Regions from separate parts of the Homo sapiens genome. Here region 2 is linked to region 1. Evidence: promoter capture Hi-C in 16 types of primary human blood cells and fetal thymus (Javierre and others, 2016). All regions are on one chromosome and are shown on one strand. Each heading gives the region's core, a stretch centred on a gene start or on the middle of the fragment in contact. The rest is flanking DNA. Distances are from core to core; before and after follow the strand shown. Region 1 holds the start of HMX1 (H6 family homeobox 1). Region 2 has its middle 2.5 kb from the start of GPR78.

Region 1 (4,158 bases), core at 420-2,919:
ACTCTCTCCACTTTGGCTTAGTGGCCTCATCAACAACATGGAGGGAGGAGCCCCCATCTGTGGGCTGCCTCCAGGCTAAACAACCCGGGGAGTCCCTGTCATTGATTATTTTTGCCCCTCTTGGGCTAGGATGCCGGGGAAAAGGAGATGGGCTGAGCATCTTGTCCTAGAGTCCCTGGAAAAGTCCTCCCACTCGAGATCGCGGCAGCCACTGAGCACTAGAGGTCCTTCCTGGCAGCCGCCAGAAAGCGCACCCAGGACACGCTCCCAAGAGGCGCACCATTTTGTCTCTGCGAACCCAGGCCGCGAGGGCCCAGCTGGCTAGGCCTCAGCCGCTCCTGGAGCCCCACCGCCCTGCCAACCAGCCGGACTCCGGGGCATCAGTGAAGGAATTCCAGGCTTGCCGGAGCCACCTACCCTCTGGGGGAGTCTCTTCTCTCTTCTCCCGTCAGTTTTCTCCGCTGAAAAATGGGGGCGATGCTCCCTCCACCGTGCTTTTTTGGAAGAATTAAACAAAGCGGAAGCCCCAGGCCTGCGGTCACCTCCGGGAACGCGGGCGGTACTCGGGTGGAGAGGGGCCCGGGGCTGGCCCTGGGAGGATGGATGTATCTCTGCGAAATAACTCGCATCGGGTGAAGCCGGCTTAACCCGCGCGTCCGCGCAGTGACCTAATGTAGGTAAGTCTGAAGTCGACGCCGGAACGGAGACAGCTCCAGGGTGCGTTATGTTCCCGAACTTCCCGCTGCAGATATGGGAGGACCTCCCCACCCCTTTAGAGCGAAGAAACGGAGGCACAACGAGGGAAGGGGCCTGCCCCCAAGACCTTCGCCCAGGGCAGAGGCTGGGCCAAAAGCTCCCACCCCCTTCTAAGGCCCTGGCTTCCCCTGGAGCGGGCGGTGGGGGTGCTGGCGCGGTGAAGACCTGCTTGGTAACATCGAGCGGGCTGCCAGCGGAGCCCTGTGGTTGCACTTCCTTACATACTGGTACCGAGCCCGGGAACTGAAGAGTTCTACCGAACTACAGTTGGCATTGAAAGCATCTTTCCTTAAGTGCAAATATTAAGATATGCCACATTTCGCAGTCCTGTTTTGGCAGTGTTCCCATTTTTAAATTACACACAAAGTCTTAAATAAAAAAATGTGGCCCAGCCTCTTGCAGTTTCTTGGGAGCCCCGGGGTCTCCACGCCGCCCTCCACACACACACAGCCATTCAAACGCACACTCGTGCACACACCACGCGCGCGCACACACACAGTTACTCACGGTCGGTCCAACACCCTCCTCGCAGCGGGGTAATTACGGCTCTGGCCGGACGGTGATTGGCCAGCCCGTTCCTCATCGGGGCCCCACAGCCAATGGGTGGCCGCTCAGCCCAGGCCCCGCCCCCACGGAGCGGGTGGCGCGGGACGGGGGAACTGATCACGCGGGATCGGACCCGGCGCGACCCCCCGCCTGCGCCCGGGGCCGCCCGCCCTCGGCTGCGCCGCTGCCCGCGCGCTCAGGTCTGGGCAGCGTCTCCCGGCAGCGGCCGCGCTCGGGGCCGGCGCAGCGTCCTCGGGGCTCAGCGGGCCGCCCTCCCGGCCCAGCCCGCGACCCCCCGCCCCTGCTGGCCCCTCCCCCTCCCCGCCCCCAGTGAGGCCGCCCCGGCGGCGACCAGAACGGCGACCTGAAAGGCGAGCCAGGCGGCTGCCCGATCAGCTGTCGGCGCGCACTCGCTCCCGGCCCGGCCCAGCCCAGCCCGGCGCGGAGGCCGCCGCCTGCCCTGCGGGGCCCGACGCCAGCGGTCCGGGTAGCAGCTCCAGGGCCGGCCCGCGCGTGCGCCCGGGAGCCGCGCGCCACCATCCCCAGCGGGGACCGAGGAGCCCGGCCGAGCCCGAGAAGCCCGCGGCCGCGATGCCTGACGAGCTGACGGAGCCCGGGCGCGCCACGCCGGCCCGCGCCTCCTCCTTCCTCATCGAGAACCTGCTGGCGGCCGAGGCCAAGGGCGCAGGGCGCGCGACCCAGGGCGACGGCAGCCGGGAGGACGAGGAGGAGGACGACGACGACCCCGAAGACGAGGACGCCGAGCAGGCGCGGCGGCGACGGCTACAGCGGCGGCGACAGTTGCTCGCGGGCACCGGGCCCGGCGGGGAGGCGCGGGCCCGTGCGCTGCTCGGGCCGGGCGCGCTGGGCCTCGGTCCTCGGCCGCCCCCCGGTCCCGGGCCGCCCTTCGCTCTGGGCTGCGGAGGCGCAGCGCGCTGGTACCCACGGGCGCACGGTGGCTATGGAGGCGGCCTCAGTCCTGACAGTGAGTGAGGGCGCGGGGAGGGTGGGTCAGGCGGTGGGGCCCGACTTCCTCCCTGCGCATTTGCTGGGGGACTTCGGGCTCGTCGCCGCCCGTTCTGGGCCATCCTCTCCCTTCTGTGGAACGGCGTCTGGGCCTTGTGGGGCCCCCAGGAGCCCCTGGTTGGGCTGGTTTGGAGGCCCACCCTCTGGGGCAGGAGCTCCGCTAACGAGGAGGTTTTGCAGGCCATAGCTTCACCCATTGCCGGGCTCCTCCGGTCCCAGGGAGGCTGGGGACAGGGGACAACAGGAGGCCAAAGAAAAAAGAAAGGAGAGTGAAAGAGGATAGGGAAAGATACAGGAGAAGGCGAAAGAGGCTGAGAAAGAAAATGGGAGGATGGAGGAAGAAAGGAATGTGCTGCGGGAGAGAGAATGGGGTGGGGGGAGGGGAAGATGCAGGAAAAAGAAACCCAAGAGTGATCCGAGAGAGAAAAGAGGAGGAAGAGATGGAGGGAAAGGGAGACAAAGTAGCATCAGACGTGGAAAAATAAAAGGGGGCATTGAGCAGAGGGTGCAGTGTTGTGGGGGTGGGGCCGGGGAGGGGAGCCATCTAACATGGCAGCTGTGCCCCCCCAGAGTCCTGTTTCCTCTGTGCCCGCTGCAGACAGCCTGGGGCAGGGGCCTGGGTCTCCCTCTTGGTCCTTGAGGGGCATGGGCTGTGCCAGGCAAGAAGGGAGCCTGTTCTGAGGCCCCCAGTCCAACCCCTCTCTCTTCTTTTTCTGCCCCTCCCCCTCCTTGCCTTTGTTCCCTGCTGAGGGCTTGAGACTGGGGCTGGGGGTTCTCAACCCCAGAACCCCTTTGCCCCCTTGCTTGGGTATCTGACCCCTTAGTTCTGCTTCCCCTCCCCAGGGTTCCAGGGTCGCTGCCTCCCTTTTGTACCTGCCCTTTAGGAAGACCCCTGGGAGGAAGGCCAGGAAAGCCAGTCCAACCCCCCAAGCCCTGGCTTAGCCAGCCCCCCACCCCCAACACAGCCTTTGGACCTTGAGGCCAGCTGAGGACGTGGGCCCTCTGCAGGCTCCGGCTCTGGGATCCATGCTGTCCTCTGTATGAATATTAGTGTGTGCTGGGGAGTAAGTGGCCTACGACCCTCACTCACTTGTTAGATAACCCTTTCCATGTCGTGGAGTGATCCTTTGCAAAAGCCCCCACATCTCGGCACCCACACTCAGGAAGTCTAGGCCCCCACCCCCTTCACGTAGACTTGAGCAGGGCTTCCGTGGTTTCCCAGAAATCGAGCGACTCTGTCTAGTGCCCTTCTGGGGGAGACTATGGAAAGGGTTTCTCAGGGTGAAATTTGTTCTCCACTCATCCCTGGGGTGCATCCCCTCCTGCAGCCCAGGTGGCACCCCTGCAGAGGCGGCTCCCCCTTATTTCGTGCCATGCGGGTTAGGGTCCCACTTCCTCACTGGAGCTGGCAAGTCAGCCTAGTGCCTTGTGGCAGCACATGGGCCTCTGTGAGTTTGGGGTATTGGGGGGAGGCAGGGACTCCCCAGATCTAGTAGCATGCACCACAACCTGCTGCCTGACTCCCCTGTGGGTGCTGTGAGGGCACACACCATGGGGATTGGCCACGGGCGTGAGTGGGATGTGCACACTCCTTGGGCATGAGGCACAGAGCTGGAACCACGCACAGAAGCCCACCAGTGTGCGCACCCCTTGCATGAGCGTGCAAATGCTGCAAATACACTGCAGGCACACACCCGGCCGAGTGCACAGCCTTCCAGGGGCCCAGGGCCAGGCCAAACTCTGCCTCCACCTCTAACCTGTCAACCTGGGCCTGCCCTTTGCACGGGAGGCTCCAGACCAAGGCAGAAAAGCAGCGGGTCCGAGTCAGCC
Region 2 (4,158 bases), core at 1,093-3,592, 290 kb after region 1:
ACCTCCGCCATCCTCTGTGGTGGCTTCTGAGCCTTCTCACCCAGTGGGAATCTTCTAATCCATTCGTGGCCACTTGGCAGGACAAGGATATGGTGAAGCCTCCTGGAAGCTGCTTCTTCCAGGAAGCTTTTTGGCATTTTCTCCCCAGTGACAGCCACAACATGACAGAAATGAAGGGCAGACGATTGCCCACCCCTCCCCACACCCACCCTCACCTGCAGGCTCTGCCAGCCCTTTCTGAGGGACAAAGGGTGGCTGGTGGTGTGGAGGCTCACCCTGTGGGCCTCTCTCGTGCCGGTGCTGCAAAGTGGCCAAGGGAAAAGCCACAGGTGCACAACTGGCATGCTGGGGCACCCCTGGTTCTGTGCCTTGGGCCTCACATTCTCATCTGTCACATGGGGATATTCATAGCCCCACTTAAACCCCTTGGGCCTCACATTCTCATCTGTCACATGGGGATATTAATAGCCAGCAATAGCATCTGCCTCTGGTGGTTGCTGTTAGGGTTAAATTGGCCAACATGCACAAAATGCTGAGGACATCCCAGCAGGCAGTGAAGGATCAGAACACAGTCAACCTTTATTAGGGGGTCCGTCTTATACCTGGGCAAAGGAAGTTTCATTCAAGTGTCTCTGCCAAGTCCCCATAACTACAAACCAGGAATGCCGAGATTCATACCTCAGTCCTTCTGGCTCTAAGTCCAATGTCCTTGTCATCCAGAGAGGCCATCACACCAGCTCCAAGCCATTGCCATCCATCAAATACAGAGGCTTTCTCTCTCCCCATTTCTCCCTGGCACTCCCACAAACCTGCTTTCAAATTTTCACCAAATTAGACCTTCCCTGAAGCTAGAGCAGCCACGTCAAAGTTTTCCTGACATGTCCAGGAAGAGTGGGCCACTCTGCAGCTTCTGCAGATCAAGCAAGTTTGCAGGTGAATAGCTGGGACAAAGTGATTGTGATAGTGGGGGCTTGAGAGCAGGGGCCTCCCCCAACCCCTCCAAGGCTTCTGAGCGACCATGTGCAGCTCTGGGGAGCGGTGGAGTCATCACGTGGCTTCACAGGGAGACTTTGGTCTAGCCACTCACAGCAGCCTCTGTCACCTCTCAACTACTCCAAAGGGAGACAATTCCACTTGCAGGGGAGCAGAGAGCATCTCTTCTGAGACATGAGCATGGGGAAGCTCCACCAGCCTGTATTATGAAAGGCAGGCCATTTGCTCATCTGCAAGGATGTACTGGACAACTGCATGAATGAGAAAATGTGTGTGGTGAGATCTCTGGACTCTGGTGAGGGCACCTTGATAGGTCTAGATCTGTTCTGTTTGCTGCTCTCCCCAAAGCCCCAGTGCTTCTGGCCTCAGATCTTGCCAGCCTGGCTGCCCCCCTTCCCTGGGTTGTAGGGGGTGGTTTTGAACCCTGTGGTCTTATCAGTATAATATCGTTTCATCTTCTTACACTCAAATCTCATTCCTGATGAAAAATTTAAATCCTCTGTAGGGTGAAATGCTGGACCTAATCCTTTTATCTTCCAAAAAGAAAAAGTATATGAAAATATTAAATATTTTCACCACTTCTTTAAAAAGTAAGGCAGTACTCCTAACTATGCAATCCTGCCCATTCTTGCTGAGATACGCATTGCAATGATAAAGTTCAGGATTAGTTCCCGAAGGCTCCTCCCCTGCCTAGTGATAGTTCATGGTTCCCCATTGCCTATGAAATTCCTTAGCAGCCCCTCCAAGTCTACCTACATCTGGTCTTAGCCACTCATGACGGGCCCTTTGCTGTTGCTGTCACTCACACACAGACACACACATGCACACACACGCACACAGGCACACATGCAAGCACACACACACTCACACCATCTAGCCACATCCCCTTTACTCATCACCCATGCACTTAACCCACATTACCTGACTTTGTCTGTGTTGCTGACTTGGCCTGAATGCCCTCTCTGTACTTTCCTTTTCATCTACTCCTCTAAGACAAAGCTCTGCTAAGCCTTCCCCTGTCAGCCAGGGAGAGTCACACCTCCTCAGAGCACCTTCCGAGACTTCCATCTCAGCCCCAACAGAAGTGCTGGGCTGAGATGAAGTGCAGAGGCTGAGATGCCACTGCTGCTTAATTAAAGTGAATGGCTTAATTGTTTCCTTATCTGAAAAATAGGGGCAGGAAGACCCATCTTCGAGGGGTGGGGTAAGAATTAAATAAGGTTACATTCAATAGGTGTAAAAGAAATAAGCTTAGTACTAAAGCAAGTTTAAATAAAATCAAATGAGCTCAGTTAACCATTGTTCTTTTCCCGCTTTTCTCATTTTTCCTCCCCAGTTGCATGTAACAAGCTGTCGGTGTATATCTGTGGAAATGAATTTGTCATCAGTGATAGCACTGCAATATGATGTAATTGATACAATTCACTTATCTCACAAAATAAGCTTGCTGTTTCTCCTGGGGGGCCAGGGTGGTTGTATTGATCAGATCTGACTTTGTCCACGTCTTCTCTCTGCTCAACAAAGTGAAGAAATCAAGCCTTGTGTGATCACCACAGTCTGCTGTATCCAGCACATTCTCTTGTACACGCTGGGTGCCCAGTACATCCTTGCAGATGAGTGAATGGCCTGCCTTTCCGTAATACAGGCTGGCGAAGCTTCCCTGCGCTCATGTCTCAGAAGAGATGCTCTCTGCTCCCCTGCAAGTGAAATCGTCTCCCCCTGGAGTCATTGAGAGGTGACAGGGGCCGCTGTGAGTGGCTACACCAAAGTCCCCTTGTGAAACCTCCTGACACCTCCACCACTCCCCAGAGCTGCACGCACATGGTCACTTAGAAGCCTTGGAGGGGCTGGGGGAGCCCACAGCTATCAAGCCCTGACTGCAGGAAAGCAACTGGAAGGAACAATCTGGCATGTTAACAAAAATGATTGCTCATAGACAGGCGGAAAAGAGAAAGGAGGAAGGTGGAAAGACAGGGAAATGAATGAAACTTCCAAAAACGGGAAGGCGGCAAGTGCGTGATTCTATTCCCCTACAGCATAGTCCTGTGCGGCCATTAAAAAGCAGGTGTCAGCCCAGCATGGTGGCTCATGCCTGGAATCCCAGCACTTTGGGAGCCCAAGGCATGTGGATCAGGAGTTTGAGACCAGCCTGACCAATATAGTGAAACCCCATCTGTACTAAAAATAAATAAATAAATAAATAAATAAATAAATAAATAAATAAAATACAAAAATTAGCCAGGCATGGTGGTGTGCACCTGTAATCCCAGCCACTCAGGAGGCTGACAGGAGAATCACTTGAATCCAGGAGATGGAGTTTGCAGTGAGCTGAGATCGTGCCACTGTACTCCAGCCTGGGCAACAGAGCGAGATTCCATCTAAGAAAGAAAAGAAAAGAGAAAAGACAAGACAAAAAGGAGAGAGGGAGAGAGGGAGGGAGGGAGGGAGGGAGAAAGAGCGAGAGAGAAAGAAAAGCAGATGTCCCAAGGAAAAATCCCACTGTGGATTGTTTAGCGGAAACCACTGAGAACACTGGGACCTCTGAACAAGGTATAGAAGCACCGGATCCTGATGCCAGGCCACCAGTCATGGTCACCAATGGCTGATGGAGCTAGGAGTGGTTGGTTGTTTTTCTGTGTCTTTACACTTTCCTGTCACTTTTACATTTTCTGTGAGAGCACGAAATGCTTTGAAAATCAGAAAATCACTCAGGAAGAAAAGCCTAGATCAAGCACTCCATCTGGAGGCCTCACCATCATGACTGGATTTAATTTTGTTTTCCTGCCTTGGAGCATCTTAGTTTTGTAAAATCCCAGTAGAAATTATCTTTCCAGGAGGAGGGAGGAAATGTGGAGGGAAGAGAGAGACAGAGAAAAGGAGAGAGAGAAAAGGGGAGGGAGGGAGAGAGGGAGGGAGGGAGGGAGAGAGGGAGGGAGGGAGGAAGGGAGAGAGGGGGAGAGAGGGAGAGAGAGGGAGAGAGAGGGAGAGAGAGGGAGAGAGAGGGAGAGAGAGGGGGAGGGAGAGAGAGGGGGAGGGAGGGAGGGAGGGAGAGGGAGGGGGAGAGAGAGAGAGAGAGAGAGATCATGAGCATGGAATTCCTTAGAATAGCAGAGAGGTAGGAAAGTATTACAGCTGGCAATATTATCCACACACTTAGAAATCACA

Evidence for each region. Contacts are between HindIII fragments. The CHiCAGO score rates a contact against its expected background, and 5 or more counts as called.
Region 2: a contact is called between a fragment that was not itself captured here and the fragment with the promoter of HMX1 in region 1, in 1 of 17 cell types (M1 macrophages). The highest score is 5.2, in M1 macrophages.

The regions. Positions count from the first base shown.
Region 1 is chr4:8,869,350-8,873,507 of GRCh38, reverse strand. It overlaps HMX1 (H6 family homeobox 1), which reads left to right and starts at 1,669. Exons shown (of 2, transcript NM_018942.3): 1 at 1,669-2,287. The coding sequence starts at 1,894. The HindIII fragment of the contact is 19,285 bases long and covers 1-4,158 here.
Region 2 is chr4:8,575,831-8,579,988 of GRCh38, reverse strand. No RefSeq gene overlaps it. Among named protein-coding and RNA genes, the nearest start is that of GPR78, 2.5 kb to the left of the region's middle. The HindIII fragment of the contact is 193 bases long and covers 2,246-2,438 here.